Linked DNA regions of Homo sapiens: all the other regions are linked to region 2. The links are contacts of gene promoters, found by promoter capture Hi-C in blood cells and fetal thymus (Javierre and others, 2016). All regions are on one chromosome and are shown on one strand. The core of a region is centred on a gene start or on the middle of the fragment in contact, and the rest is flanking DNA. Distances in the headings are between cores, read along the strand shown. Region 1 has its middle 100 kb from the start of EVL. Region 2 holds the start of CYP46A1 (cytochrome P450 family 46 subfamily A member 1). Region 3 overlaps EML1 (EMAP like 1).

Evidence for each region. The method cuts DNA at HindIII sites, captures the fragments that hold promoters and counts their contacts. A CHiCAGO score of 5 or more calls a contact.
Region 1: a fragment that was not itself captured here is called in contact with the fragment with the promoter of CYP46A1 in region 2 in 1 of 17 cell types (endothelial precursors); the score reaches 5.9 in endothelial precursors.
Region 3: a fragment that was not itself captured here is called in contact with the fragment with the promoter of CYP46A1 in region 2 in 1 of 17 cell types (endothelial precursors); the score reaches 9.1 in endothelial precursors.

Annotation. Positions count from the first base shown.
Region 1 is chr14:99,962,007-99,966,201 of GRCh38, forward strand. It overlaps the pseudogene VDAC3P1. Among named protein-coding and RNA genes, the nearest start is that of EVL, 100 kb to the right of the region's middle. The HindIII fragment of the contact is 917 bases long and covers 2,449-3,365 here.
Region 2 is chr14:99,682,202-99,686,156 of GRCh38, forward strand. CYP46A1 (cytochrome P450 family 46 subfamily A member 1) reads left to right here and starts at 2,097. Exons shown (of 15, transcript NM_006668.2): 1 at 2,097-2,335. The coding sequence starts at 2,217. RefSeq lists an enhancer at 592-661 and a silencer at 1,902-2,481. The HindIII fragment of the contact is 4,802 bases long and covers 1-2,917 here.
Region 3 is chr14:99,939,604-99,944,142 of GRCh38, forward strand. EML1 (EMAP like 1) reads left to right here. Exons shown (of 22, transcript NM_004434.3): 22 at 384-2,457. The coding sequence ends at 509. LOC102724682 (a long non-coding RNA gene) reads right to left here. Exons shown (of 6, transcript XR_007064328.1): 4 at 4,380-4,539; 5 at 2,800-2,860; 6 at 2,401-2,663. Among named protein-coding and RNA genes, the nearest start is that of EVL, 120 kb to the right of the region's middle. RefSeq lists an enhancer at 1-654. The HindIII fragment of the contact is 2,584 bases long and covers 357-2,940 here.

The DNA of each region.
Region 1 (4,195 bases), core at 1,657-4,156, 280 kb after region 2:
GCCACCGCGCCTGGCCTTTGCTGACTTTTTAATTGGGCTCTTTGTCTTTTATTTTTGAGTTCTAAGAGTGCATTATATATTCCGGATACAAACCTCTTTGCTATACTTTGAATGTTTGTTTCCCCAAACTTCATGTTGAAATTTGACTCCTAGCGTTGGAGGTGGGCTCGGTGGGAGGTATTTGGGTCGTGGGTTGGGAATCCCCATGAATACGTTAATGCCCTCCCTAGGGGAGGAGGACTGAGTTGGTTCCTGCTCCATCAGTTCCAGAGAGAGCCCGTTGTCAAAAGGAGCCTGGCCCCTCCCCCTCTCTCTTGCTCCCTCTCTCGCCCTGTGATCTTTGCACCTGTGGGCTCCTTTCACCTTCCACCATGAATGCAAGCAGCCTGAGGCTCTCACCAGGTCCCCAGTCTTCCAGCCAGCAGAGTCGTGAGCCACATTTATCCAGCCTCAGGTATTCCTTTATAGCAACAGTAAACAGACAAAACCAGATCTTATCAGATATATGATATTTGCAAATATTTTCTCTCATTCTGTGGGTTGTCTTTTCACTTTCTAGATGGTATCATTTGCAGCAAAAGTGTTTAATACTAATGTGGTCCAATTTATTTATTTTTTCTTTGGTCACTTCTGCTTTTGGTGTCATATCTAAAAAGCCTCCGCCAAACTCAAGGTTATGAAGATTGCATGTATGTTTTCTTCTAAGAGTTTTATAGTTTTAGCTCTTATATGAAGGTCTGTGATCCATTTTGAGATAAAGTTTATGAATGATGTAAATAAGGTTTCAACTTTAGTCTTTTGCATGTGGGTATCTAGTTGTTTCAACACCATTTATTAAAGCCTGTTCTTTAACTTGGCGCCCCTGTTGATAATCAATTGACTGTAAAGTTAAGGGTTTATTTCTCAACTCTCTATCCTATTTTTTTTTCTTTGAGATGGAGTCTTGCTCTGTGGCCCAGGCTAGAGTGCAGTGGCGTGATCTTGACTCACTGCAACCTCCGCCTCCTGGGTTCAAGCGATTCTCCCGCCCTCAGTCTCCCGAATAGCTGGGACTACAGGCGCATGCCACCACACCCGGCTAATTTTTTGTATTTTTGGTAGAGATGGGGTTTCACCATGTTGGCCAGGCTGGTCTCGAACTCCTGACCTCAGGTGATCCACCTGCCTCAGCCTCCCAAAGTGCTGGGATTACAGGTGTGAGCCACCACTCCCTGCCTGGACTGTCTATTTTATTCCATCAATGTATATACCTGTACTTATTCTTTTTCAAGACTCTTCTGGCTATTCTATGGTCCCTTGCATTTCCAGATGAATTTTAGGATCAGCTTTCTAATTTCTGCACAAAATAAAAGTGGAAGCAGCTGGGATTTTGACAGGAATTGCATCGAATCTGTAGGTCAATTTGGGCTCTCTTGCCATTTTAATAATATTAGCTCTTTCAACCCATAAATGGATATCTTTCCGTTTATAGGTTTTCTTTAATTTCTTTCGGAGTCGTTTCATAGTTTTCAGTGTACAAGTCTTACACTTTTTTTGTTAAATTCATTCATAAGTATTTTATTGTTTTGATGTCATGTAAATAGAATTGTTTTCTTAACTTCATTTTCAGATTCTTCATAGCAAGTCTATCGAAATACAATTGATGTTTATATGTTTATCTTATATGCTTGGACCTTGCAGAACTTGTTTATTAGTTCTGATAGTTTTTGAGTGGGTTCCTTAGGAATTTCTATAGGTAAGATAATGTCATCTGAAAATAAAAATGGTTTTACCTGTTTTTGTCACTAAAGTTCTCTTGGAACACAGTGACATCCACTCACATATGGTCTATGGCTGTCTTCAAGTCAAAGGCCAAGGGAAGTAGTTGTGTTCCCGGAAGCAAGTCAGGTCCAGCTGCCTCTTCTTGAGTCCCAATAATGAGAAGCAGACAAACTAGCGAAGAAGGGAATTGGCCAGGTGCGGTGGCTCATGCCTGTAATCCCAGCACTTTGGGAGGCCGAGGCGGGCGGATCACCAGGTCAGGAGATCGAGACCATCCTGGCTAACATGGTGAAACCACGTCTCTACTAAAAATACAAAAAAAAAAAAAAAAAAAAAAAAAAAAATTAGCCTAGCGTGGTGGCGGGTGCCTGTAGTCCCAGCTACTTGGGAGGCTGAGGCAGGAGAATGGCGTGAACTCTGGAGGCGGAGTTGCAGCGAGCAGAGATTGCACCACTGCACTCCAGCCTGGGCGACAGAGTGAGACTCCGTCCCAAAAAAAAAAAAAAAAAGGGAATTTATTGCTGTAACCGGATACAGGCAGAAGGCCAGAGATAATTCCACCAGACCAACTCAAAGTGTTAGAATTGCTTATACAGGTTGGAGTTATGTGCCTACGTGCAGCACAACATTCGCCTAAGTCTATTGGTAACTAATTTTGTTTCAACTAGAAGGTCAGAGGCAAAAAAAAGCTTGTGGGAGACAGGCCCTTGGGGGTGGAGGTCTTTGATTTCATAAGAACCTGAGAAAGATTTTTCTAAGATATGTGTAACACACCAACTTACTGTGACCTGGGAAAGGCTGCTGAGGATGTCTTCAACAAAGGATATGGCTTTGGCATGGGGAAGATAGACCTGAAAACCAAGTCCTGTAGTGCAGTGGAATTTTCTACTTCTGGTCATGCTTACACTGATACAGGGAAAGCATCAGGCAACCTAGAACCCGAATGTAAGGTCTGTAACTATGGACTTACCTTCACTCAAAAACGGAACACAGACAATACTCTTGGGACAGAAATCTCTTTGGAGAATAAGTTGGCTAAAGGGTTGAAACTGAGTCTTGATACCATATTGGTACCAAACACAGGAAAGAAGAGTGGGGAATTGAAGGCCTCCTATAAATGGGATTGTTTTAGTGTTGGCAGTAATGTTGATCTAGATTTTTCCGGACCAACCATCTATGGCTGGGCTGTGTTGGTCTTTGAAGGGTGGCTTGCCGGCTATCAGATGAGTTTTGACACAGCCAAATCCAAATTGTCACAGAATAATTTCGCCCTGGGTTACGAGGCTGCAGACTTCCAGCTGCACACACATGTGACCGATGGCACTGAATTTGGAGGTTCTATCTACCAGAAGGTTAATGGGATTGAAATGTCAATAAACCTTGCTTGGACGGCTGGAGTAACAACACCCATTTTGGCATTGCTACTAAGTACAAGCTGGATTGTAGAACTTCTCTCTCTGCTAAAGTAAATAATGCCAGCCTGATTGGACTGGGTTATACTCAGACCCTTCGACCCGGAGTCAAATTGACCCTTTATCAGCTTTAATCGATGGAAACAACTTCAGTGCAGGAGGTCACAAGGTTGGCTTGGCGTTTGAACTGCAAGCTTAATGTGGTTTGAGGAAAGCATCAGATTTGTCCCTGGAAGTGAAGAGAAATGAACCCACCATGTTTTGGCCCTACAATCCTTCTGTGAAATTTCAAAAGTGTGAACTTTTTACTCTTCCAAAAAATTGTAATCCTCCCCACACTGAAGTCTAGGGGTTGTGAGTCCCTCCTGAGGGGAGGCGCTGGAAAGCATGCCTGGAAGCTGTCCTGTTTGTGCCACGTTTCGGTTCAGTTCTGCAGTGTTATTAAATGTGTTCCTCGGCGACAGTGTGGTGTCATGTTAGAGGAGACGATCTGAACCTCCAGTTTGTACCTCGTGTCCTGCATGTTCACACCATTTTTTTCATGACTCTGTAATATATTGGTCTCTGTGCTATTGTGGAATCTTTGATTTTGCATCAGAGTAAAATAAAATAAACCCATCACATTTGGAACATAAAAAAAAAAAAACAAGCTAAGTCTGATTAAGCTGTGTGGGCCCCAGTACCTTCAAGGCCTGTCTCCTGTGGTACCAGAGTGATTATTTCTATCTTATCTCCTTTACAGCTTGGTCTGGAGTGCTGCCTTAGACTCTCTGATGAATCTATTCAAACAGCTGCCTCTGTTACCTTGACTCGTCTCAGATTTTGTCGACCCGAGGCAGGTCCTGGCACTAGGAATGTTAGATTCTATTATTTTGACTTGCTCCAGGTTAGGGAGAAGCCCATGCAAGGCTTCTACTGACCGTATGCTTTATTTGTAGCTTTGATGTCTGGGCACCGATTGCCCTAGGTTTAACTATTTGCTCAGTGTTAAGGCAGCGCTGTGGAAATCTGTGTAACTGGGG
Region 2 (3,955 bases), core at 847-3,346:
TCGGCTCACTGCAAGCTCCGCCTCCCGGGTTCACGCCATTCTCCTGCCTCAGCCTCCCCAGTAGCTGGGACTACAGGCGCCCGCCACCACGCCCAGCTAATTTTTTGTATTTTTAGTAGAGATGGGGTTTCTCCGTGTTAGCCAGGATGGTCTCGATCTCCTGACCTCGTGATCCGCCCGCCTCGGCCTCCCAAAGTGCTGGGATTACAGGCGTGAGCCACTGCGCCCGGCCTCTAAAACTTTTAAATACATTTTCACTCCTGCTCTAAAACTTGCCTCTCACTCTGCCTTACGCCCCTCAGTCGAATTCTTTCTTCTGAGGAGGCAAGAACTGAGGCTGCTGCAGACCCATATGGATTTGCTGTTGCTAACAGTACCATTGTTCCAGGGGTCTGGAGAGACAAGGCAAGAGAAAGTCCTCTTCAGACAGTGCGATGCACTGTGTAATCTCAGGGAGCCGTTCCACAAACTGGATACTAAATGTGATGCCGTCACATTTCTTTTCTAGCTAACCACCCCAACCCACCTTCCAGTGCGCAGGAATCCACACCCTCCTTCTTGCAGCCTCATCCTCCCTCCAAATTGCCCTCAAGCCCCGGAGCTTTCACAGCCCACAGGGGACCTGGTGGCTCCGTTCCACACCTCACCCCAGCAGGGCCAGCCTGAGTTACCCTGTGGGCCTGCGGCTGCCTGTCACCGCCGCCACACGGGGGCGCCATAGCAAGCCAACATCCCCGAGTCCAACTGGGCGGCCGGGCCAGGCGCCGGGGGGATGGATGCTCTGCTGCCCACCTGTCCAGGCTGCGGTGGCCCCGAGGGCAGAAGTCCCGCCTCCTCCGTGCTGGGCACGGCTCTTAAGACTTGGCCGTCTCCGTCGCCCCTCAGCCCACACCCCTAACAGCCATGTCCCATGTCCCTAACTATACCTGGGAAGGCGGTACCAAGGTCCCCTTCGTTTTCCAACCCCCAACCTCTCCAGGACTGGCTCAAGCGTGGGGCAGGGGCATTGCCTCTTCTCAGAAACCCAGCAGCATCTACACTCCCTGGGCCTCTACCTCCAGCCCGGGGGACCTTTACCTGGGCTAGGAGTGGGCACACCTGGCCTTCCCCTGCCACGACTTTCACGCTGGGTGGTCCCTCGGGATAGGAATTGGGAACTAAAACGCCCAGAATTGGCCTCATCTTCATACGGGATGGGCAAGGAGACGCGGGTTACGACAGAGGGGGAAGCCCTGGTCATTATTTCGAAAATACCTTCTCCTCCGCTACCCCCGCCTCCCCGGCACATTTCCCGCTTTCCCTGGAGGGCGGACCCAGATTTTCATCCCTCCAACTCCAACTCCTTCGGGCCTGAGCCAGCGCCTCAGATGGGGCTTCGCCTGGTCTAGGAGGGTCCGCAGGCCCCCGAGTCTCTGGGAGAACAGCCTCCGGCCACGCCGTGCGCTCTCGGTCGCAGACACAGGCGTCCCTGGGTCCCGCAGGATCCTGCCACCAGCCCGCGGGCCCCGCTGGCGGACCACGGGCGCTAGGCGTGGACTGTCCGGGCGGAGGAGGCGCCCCGGGGCAACTGGAGAACAACTTTGGGGGTCTGGGGTTCCAAGGAGAAGTTTGGGAACAGTCGGCGTTATGCGGACTTTTGCAGGCTGGGATGGGGTTTCCGGGCAGGTTTGGGGGAAAAAGGAAGGGGCCTAAGACCGCGCGCGGAAAGATGCCGTTATTTGGAGGCGCCGAAGCGGGCGGAGCCAGCCAGCAGGACTTCGCGCCGCCGCCGGGCCAGAGCGCTGAGGATCGGCGTTGCCAGGGACAACGCGTTCTGGGCGGAGCTGCTGCTGGGGCGGACCTGAGTCTGAAGAGGTGGGGGCGGAGCCTGGGGGGCTGAGCCAGAAGCGGAGTTGTGATTGGTGAAGACCACATGCTCGGGGTGGGGCCTGGGCTGGGGCGGTGTGGAGGTTGGGGCGGAGCTCTGGGGGGCGGGGCGGGGCGGGGGAGGGCCCGGAGCGCCGGAGCCGGAGGCGGAGACGTGGTTGGCGGGGACTGTGCGCCCTGGGAGGGGTCGGAGTCGGCGGGGGCGGAGCCGAGCGGGCGGGGAGGGTGCTGGGTCGCGCCTGGCCTGGGGCCGAGGCGGCGCGCGGCGCTGACAGCTGAGTCGGCTCGCGGCCTCCCGGCCCCCTCGGCGCCCGGCCCGACCCTGGCCTGGCCTGCCCTGCCCCGGAGCCATGAGCCCCGGGCTGCTGCTGCTCGGCAGCGCCGTCCTGCTCGCCTTCGGCCTCTGCTGCACCTTCGTGCACCGCGCTCGCAGCCGCTACGAGCACATCCCCGGGCCGCCGCGGCCCAGGTGAGCGGGGCTGGGGGCGGGGCCTGGCTGGGGTGCTGGGACTGGGGGCCTGGGGACAGCGTCTAAGCCGGCGTCCAGGCCGGGGGTCCGGCCTCGCCTAGTGCGCGCGGCCGCTGGGAGTCGGCGGCCCCGAGAGGGGCGCTAACTATTCTTAGTAACAAATTACTCACAGCCGCAGCAGCTGCTGGGCGCCCACCGCGCACAGCTGGGCCCCACAAACGTGATGGCAGCCACAGCCCTTTCAGGTAGGCGCTATTGTTAACCCATCGTTCAGACGAGGAGACTGAGGCGCTCAGAGGCGAAGTCACCTGCCCAAGGTCACACGGTTGGTAAGCCTAGATTTAAGCCCAGGTCAGCCTGCCTCCAAAGTGGGCGCTGTTAACTTTGGGACTTGGACAGGGTCAGCCTGGATTGGAGCACGCTGTACTTCAGTCATGTTTCCTTTTGCTTGTATTTCTGTTCTGGGACACCCCATTTGTCTTCTCCTTAGTACTTACAATTGCATTCTTGGTCCCCACCCCCACGCAACTTACACCCCCCTCAACTTGCCAACCCCCCCCCACCCCCAGCTTAGCTTTGTGAAGCTTAAATTAAATGTGTCATTTCCCTGCTCCAAGGGCTTCCCATCACTTGACAACTAAATGCAGTTCTAAATTAAGTCGGCTGCATGGCCCGCGAGGCCCCTGCCGAGCACTCAGAACCCACTCTGCAGCTTGCTCTTTCCTCTTGCTTTCTCACTACTGCCCCCAGCCTTTCTTCTCCCAGCCTCCCCCTCCCCCCGCCCCCCCCGCAGCTTCCCTCCCCCCGGGTCCTTTTCTCAAGCCTGGGCCTGGCGGGCTTCTTCCTCTGCTTGTCTCAAACAGGCCTTGCCCAGCACCTTGTGTAAAGACCACCCAGCCCCAGACTTCTCAGGGGCCATCACCTCTGAGGTTACCTTCTTTCCACCTGTTGACTGTCTGTTCACCTGTTGACTGTCTCCCCCTCTAGAATGTGAGCCCCGGGAGGACAGGGACACTCTGTGTTCGCTTGTGTATCCCCAGTGCCTGGCGTGTTGCAGATCTCAATAAATATTTGTTGAATGAATGAATAAACAATTGTATTAGACACACTTTTTAAAATCTCAGGACATGAATATTCTGGAAGGCACCCATCTCCAGCACAAGCCAGATGTACTGGCGTTAGAAGCCTGAATCTCTGCTTGATGGGTTCAGGAAAGATCTCTGTGGCTGGTGACATAGGGAGGCACCTGTTCTCCCTGCTGGCTCTCTGCCCTTCTGGTGCTCTCTCTCTCTCTCCTTGCTTAGCTCCTCTGCCTTCTACTTTACCTGGATGCTTCTTCCCCCAGCCTTCCAGGTTTGGCTTCAATGCTAACTCCTCAGGGAGGTTCCTCCTGCTCCCCCAAAAATATTATGTTCATTTTATAAACCCTGAAATCACTGTAATTTTCCTTTACAGCATAATGTTAATTGGGCAATTATTTGTGCAAGTTTTTCCTAAGTGTCTCTTTTCCATGGGCCCCCTGTCTGTCTCAGTCACTGCTGCATCTCCGACATGTAGCAGCACATTGTACATGCATAGTAGACACTCTATGAATAGCAATTCAAGGTTGAATGGTGGAAA
Region 3 (4,539 bases), core at 399-2,898, 260 kb after region 2:
GCTCAGCCGCGCCAGCCCTGAGCCCTGGGACGCCCTTCTTCATCCTCCGTGATCCTGACCCTGGAGACCCCTCACCCTCAGCCCCGGGCATCTGGTTAGGCCCACCTTTGGGGCGACCTCATACCTGGCACCTCTGATACTGAGCATATCTCTCGGCTGAGGGCGGTCATTTGCTCGTGTCTGTCCCCTACCAGGCCACGAGGACTGTGGGCTTTGTTTCTGTGTCCCTTCTGTGTCACACACAGAGCAGGTTCCCAAGTGAGAGCTGCCGAGCGGAGGGCGAGTAAAGGAATTAAGGCATGCAGTGAGAATTCAAGCACTTTCCCATCCCAGATGGTTCGCCTTGTAGTAAAGGAAGCTTTCCCCCGTATCATTCCCTCCAGGCTCCAAGCCACATCTACGGCGGGCACAGCAGCCATGTCACCAATGTCGATTTCCTCTGTGAAGACAGCCACCTCATCTCCACGGGCGGGAAAGACACAAGCATCATGCAGTGGCGCGTCATTTAGTACCCACCGAGAGCTGTGGGGAGCAGCATGGGCAAGGAAGACACAGACTCGCATTACCCTTGGTCACTGTGATTTCTGTTTTGTTTAAAAAATTCTTACAAACCTCAGGAAAACTGTGCCCTCCGCCGGCTACCTTAGCTTAGCGTGTCAGCGGGCGCCACAGCGGATCAGCGGTTCCGTGTTCACTTTTGTTGTACAATATATGACACAGTGCACATTGAATACCAACAAGGTTGCAACGTTTACATTATAGCCACATCAACAGAAGTAACTGGTATATTCTTAGTAACTTTTCTATGAACTCTTCAAAAATGGTCACAGAATGCCTTTTAAAACATTGTATATAATCTTCACTGTTTCACCATCTAGCTTGCTAAGTCAAATATTTATGATGATAATGAGGTACTGAACCACGATGGCTGTTGAGGAATTGGTCCTAAAAGGACAGATCACTTCAGAAGAGTGAATAACTGATTTGCACAGCTGAATCAGGAGACACAAAGATGAGACTGTGTTTGGTTACATTTTCCAAAGTTTCATTGCATTCTCCCTTGGGGAGGCTGTGAGAGAGGGCTTGTATCCCTCTTGTGCTAAGCAGACTCTACTCCTAACTGACTTCAATATTTCAGCAGGGTACACAGGCGTTTCCAAGTTTCAGTGACACCGTCCTGCCTAACCAGATGCGGTCAGCCTCTTCACACCCACCTGGCTTGCATCCCCCATCCCTTGTTCACACGCCCTGATTCACGGTGAGACATTTTGCCACCTTCTTGTGTATATTACTTGGCATGAGATGATATTGTACTTGTATAGGATTCTAGCAATTCATAATAAATATGTAAGACTAGGCTTTACTGTCTTATGCTTATGGACATTGTATATTTGTATTTTATGACCAAGTAGACCAAGTCAGAAAGATCTCTCTCGAGCGTACCATAAACCTGCAGAGAGAAGTCTCGAAAGGCTCCACCAGGTACCAAGGGCAGCTGCTTTTCCTGTCTTTTGTGCATGGGCGACCCATTACAGTATGAGATAAGATTGAGTTCTGATGCGTTAAACGGAGGTGGCAGAAATTTGTCAAGAAGGCCTTATCCATTTCGATTGTGTGACAGATTGAAATTTATTGTTTACATTGGGGAATGTATCTCAAATTTTTAAATAGAAGAGTAATAAACAGACTTTAAAGCAAATATTAAGATTTTTACTCATTCAAGGCAAGTAAATGAATGGAATTATCTGAGCTCTATGGCACTGGTTGTTTAGAGTGACTGATGAAGTGCAACTTTCAAAAACATTTTTGATGACATCACCAGCCTACTGCAGAAGTGCAGGGCACCAGTAAACACCATGTATTATTGAAGATGAATCTGTTTGTATGTATCCTTGTCAAATATATTCTATAATGAAATAAAATCTGAAAAGTGGATTTCTTATTGACCTATATTCATGAAAGCATATAAATTAAAATATTTAAAATTAGATATGATTCACACTATATTCTGTTTCATATGCAGATTTTATTCTCACCTGGGCCATTTGCAGATGAGACTGTAGTTTGCAGATGAGACTGTAGTTTGCAGATGGCGTGGAAGCATTCATCAGGGGAGATAACCATAAAGGATTTGGCCTAATTACCATACTCAATTGTCAGTTTACGTGGTTTTGTGAATACTGGCAAAAGCAATTGTTTTTAAATTAACAATGGAGAGAATGATAAGATGAGGGAAGGAAAAGGCATTCATTATTGACTTACATGTCAGTAAGGTCTGCTTTTATTTCTATGTACTCCTGTTTGCCAAGCTCAATAATGGACAAAGGATACAAACACACACACATCTACTATTTTAGATAAATGTACTGTTATATATATATGTAAACTACTATTGCTCTCTTTATAATGATTAATCACTTTATTATGAATGAATGAATGAATTTGATGGATTTAAAATGGCTTCATTTCATTTTAATTGAAATTCTTTAACCAGTGCAGTATTAACCTTGCAGGTGTTCACTGTTCACTCACTCACGCGTTAACACAGCGAGCAATGACCCTGTGCCACTGCTCAGCACCTCTCAGGCAAGCAAGGCCTTGAACCTCCAAGATTCTCCCGGAACGAGAGGCTCAGGAACCGCGCAGCTCTTAGCCCAGCTTCCCTGCAGCACGTAAGATGAGGAAAGATGAAAGGAAAGGAAAGATTACGATTTATTTGTAGTTACAATAATTAAGTTTGTTAGCATGAGAGAATTTTCCAGTGAACAAAAAGCCCTCAGGGGATTTTTTTTTATTTACCATTTGAAACTTTGTGAAGATGAAATTGTTGCTTTTGCAGAGTAAAGTCTCCGTGGCAGTCCTGTTTAGATAAGGTCAAGTATCAAGGGAACGCTGGATTTCCTCAAGAACAGGGTAGGTGCTGGCGTTCACATGCTTCAAAGCTTGCAAAAGAGCACAGTTGACCCTTGAACAACACAGGGGTTAGGGGTGCTGACCCCACACGCAGTCAAAGATCTATGTATAACTTTTTACTTTCCAAAAACCTAACTACTGATAGCCTACTGTTGACTGGATGCCTCACTGAGAACAATTTCCACATATTTTGTCAATATGTATTATATAGTACACGCTTGCAATAAAGTAAGCTAGAGAAGATAAAATGTTAAGAAAATTATAAAAGAGGCCAGGCACAGTGGCCCAGCCTGTAATCCCAGCACTTTGGGAGGCTGAGGTGGGAGGATCACTTGAGCCCAGGAGTTCACAACCAGCCTGGGCAACACAGCAGGACCCCATCTCTACCAAAAATTTTAAAAAGTAGCCGAGTATAGTGGTATGTGCCTGTAATCCCAGCTACTCCTGGAGGCTGAGGTGGGAGGATTGCTTGAGCCTGGGAGGTCGAGGTTGCAGTGAGCCTGGAGCAGACCACTGCACTCCAGCCTGGGTGACAAAATGAGACCCTGTCTCACTCTGGGGACTCTGAAGGCTGACAGCCTGCTGCCGCCTGCCTCCAGGGCCTGGGAAGTTGATTTGAAGAGTGACACTACCAGGGCAGGGAGGCCATCTGTCATTCTGCGGGTGTTTGTTTGGGGGATTTTGTAGGCTTGTGACAGCCTGCAGGGAAAGCAGGGCTATTTGATAGATACACTGAGGCTTGGAGAAGGAAATAACTTCCCCAAGACAGGCACTTGTTCCAAACTTGTCTTAATGACATGTGCTGGGCGCTGGGAATATAAGGACGGGCAAAACCACACCAGTGCCTGCCCTGGGGCGCCTACATGGCATCAGAAGAGCCAGAGGTTAGCAGAACGCATGCCCAGCCGCGTGCTAGATGACCACCATATGAGCCAGGAAGGAATTGAGAGCATCTAACTGGAAGACCCGAGTGAGTATGGGGACTCCGGAAAGTTTCCCTGGCAGAAAGAGAAGGAAATGACCCGGGAGAGCGGGGAGAGAGGCACTGGAGGCTGAGGCCAACACTCACAAAACCCTTTTGAGAGGGAAATTCAAGAGCACAGGGTAGGGGCACAGGAGTCCAGGGCAGTTTGTGAGAGGCAGGGCACGGGGGGCATGTTAAGGGCTTTATTCCAAATCCCAACAGCAAAGGGGGGCCGCTGGTGGGTTAGGCAGGGAAGGGTTCCCACTGCAATTCTGAAAGGGCTTCCAGGCCGGGGGCTGATGGGTGGGGGCTTTACTGTCATCTCAGTGGGCAGTGATGGTGGCGTGGAGTGGGGAGGTGGGAGCACTGTCCCAGAGAGGTTTGTGGGGTGGCGTCGGCAGAGCTCGCAGGTGGAGTGGATGTGGGCGGGGCTGAGTCCAAGGTCCCTGACTGCTTCTCTGGTGGGATGACAGTGCCAAGAGCTAAAATGCAGATCACTGACCGTCTGAAGGAGGGTAGTAAGGCCTGGAACAGGTGAAGCGAGTTGACATCCAACTGCAAGGGCAAAGTAGGCATTCGGCTTTGCAGGCCCAGCACAGACATCCTGTGGGAGGTGGACACGGGAGGCTCTCCCCGGAGGCTGGTTTTGGGAGCCAAGGTGT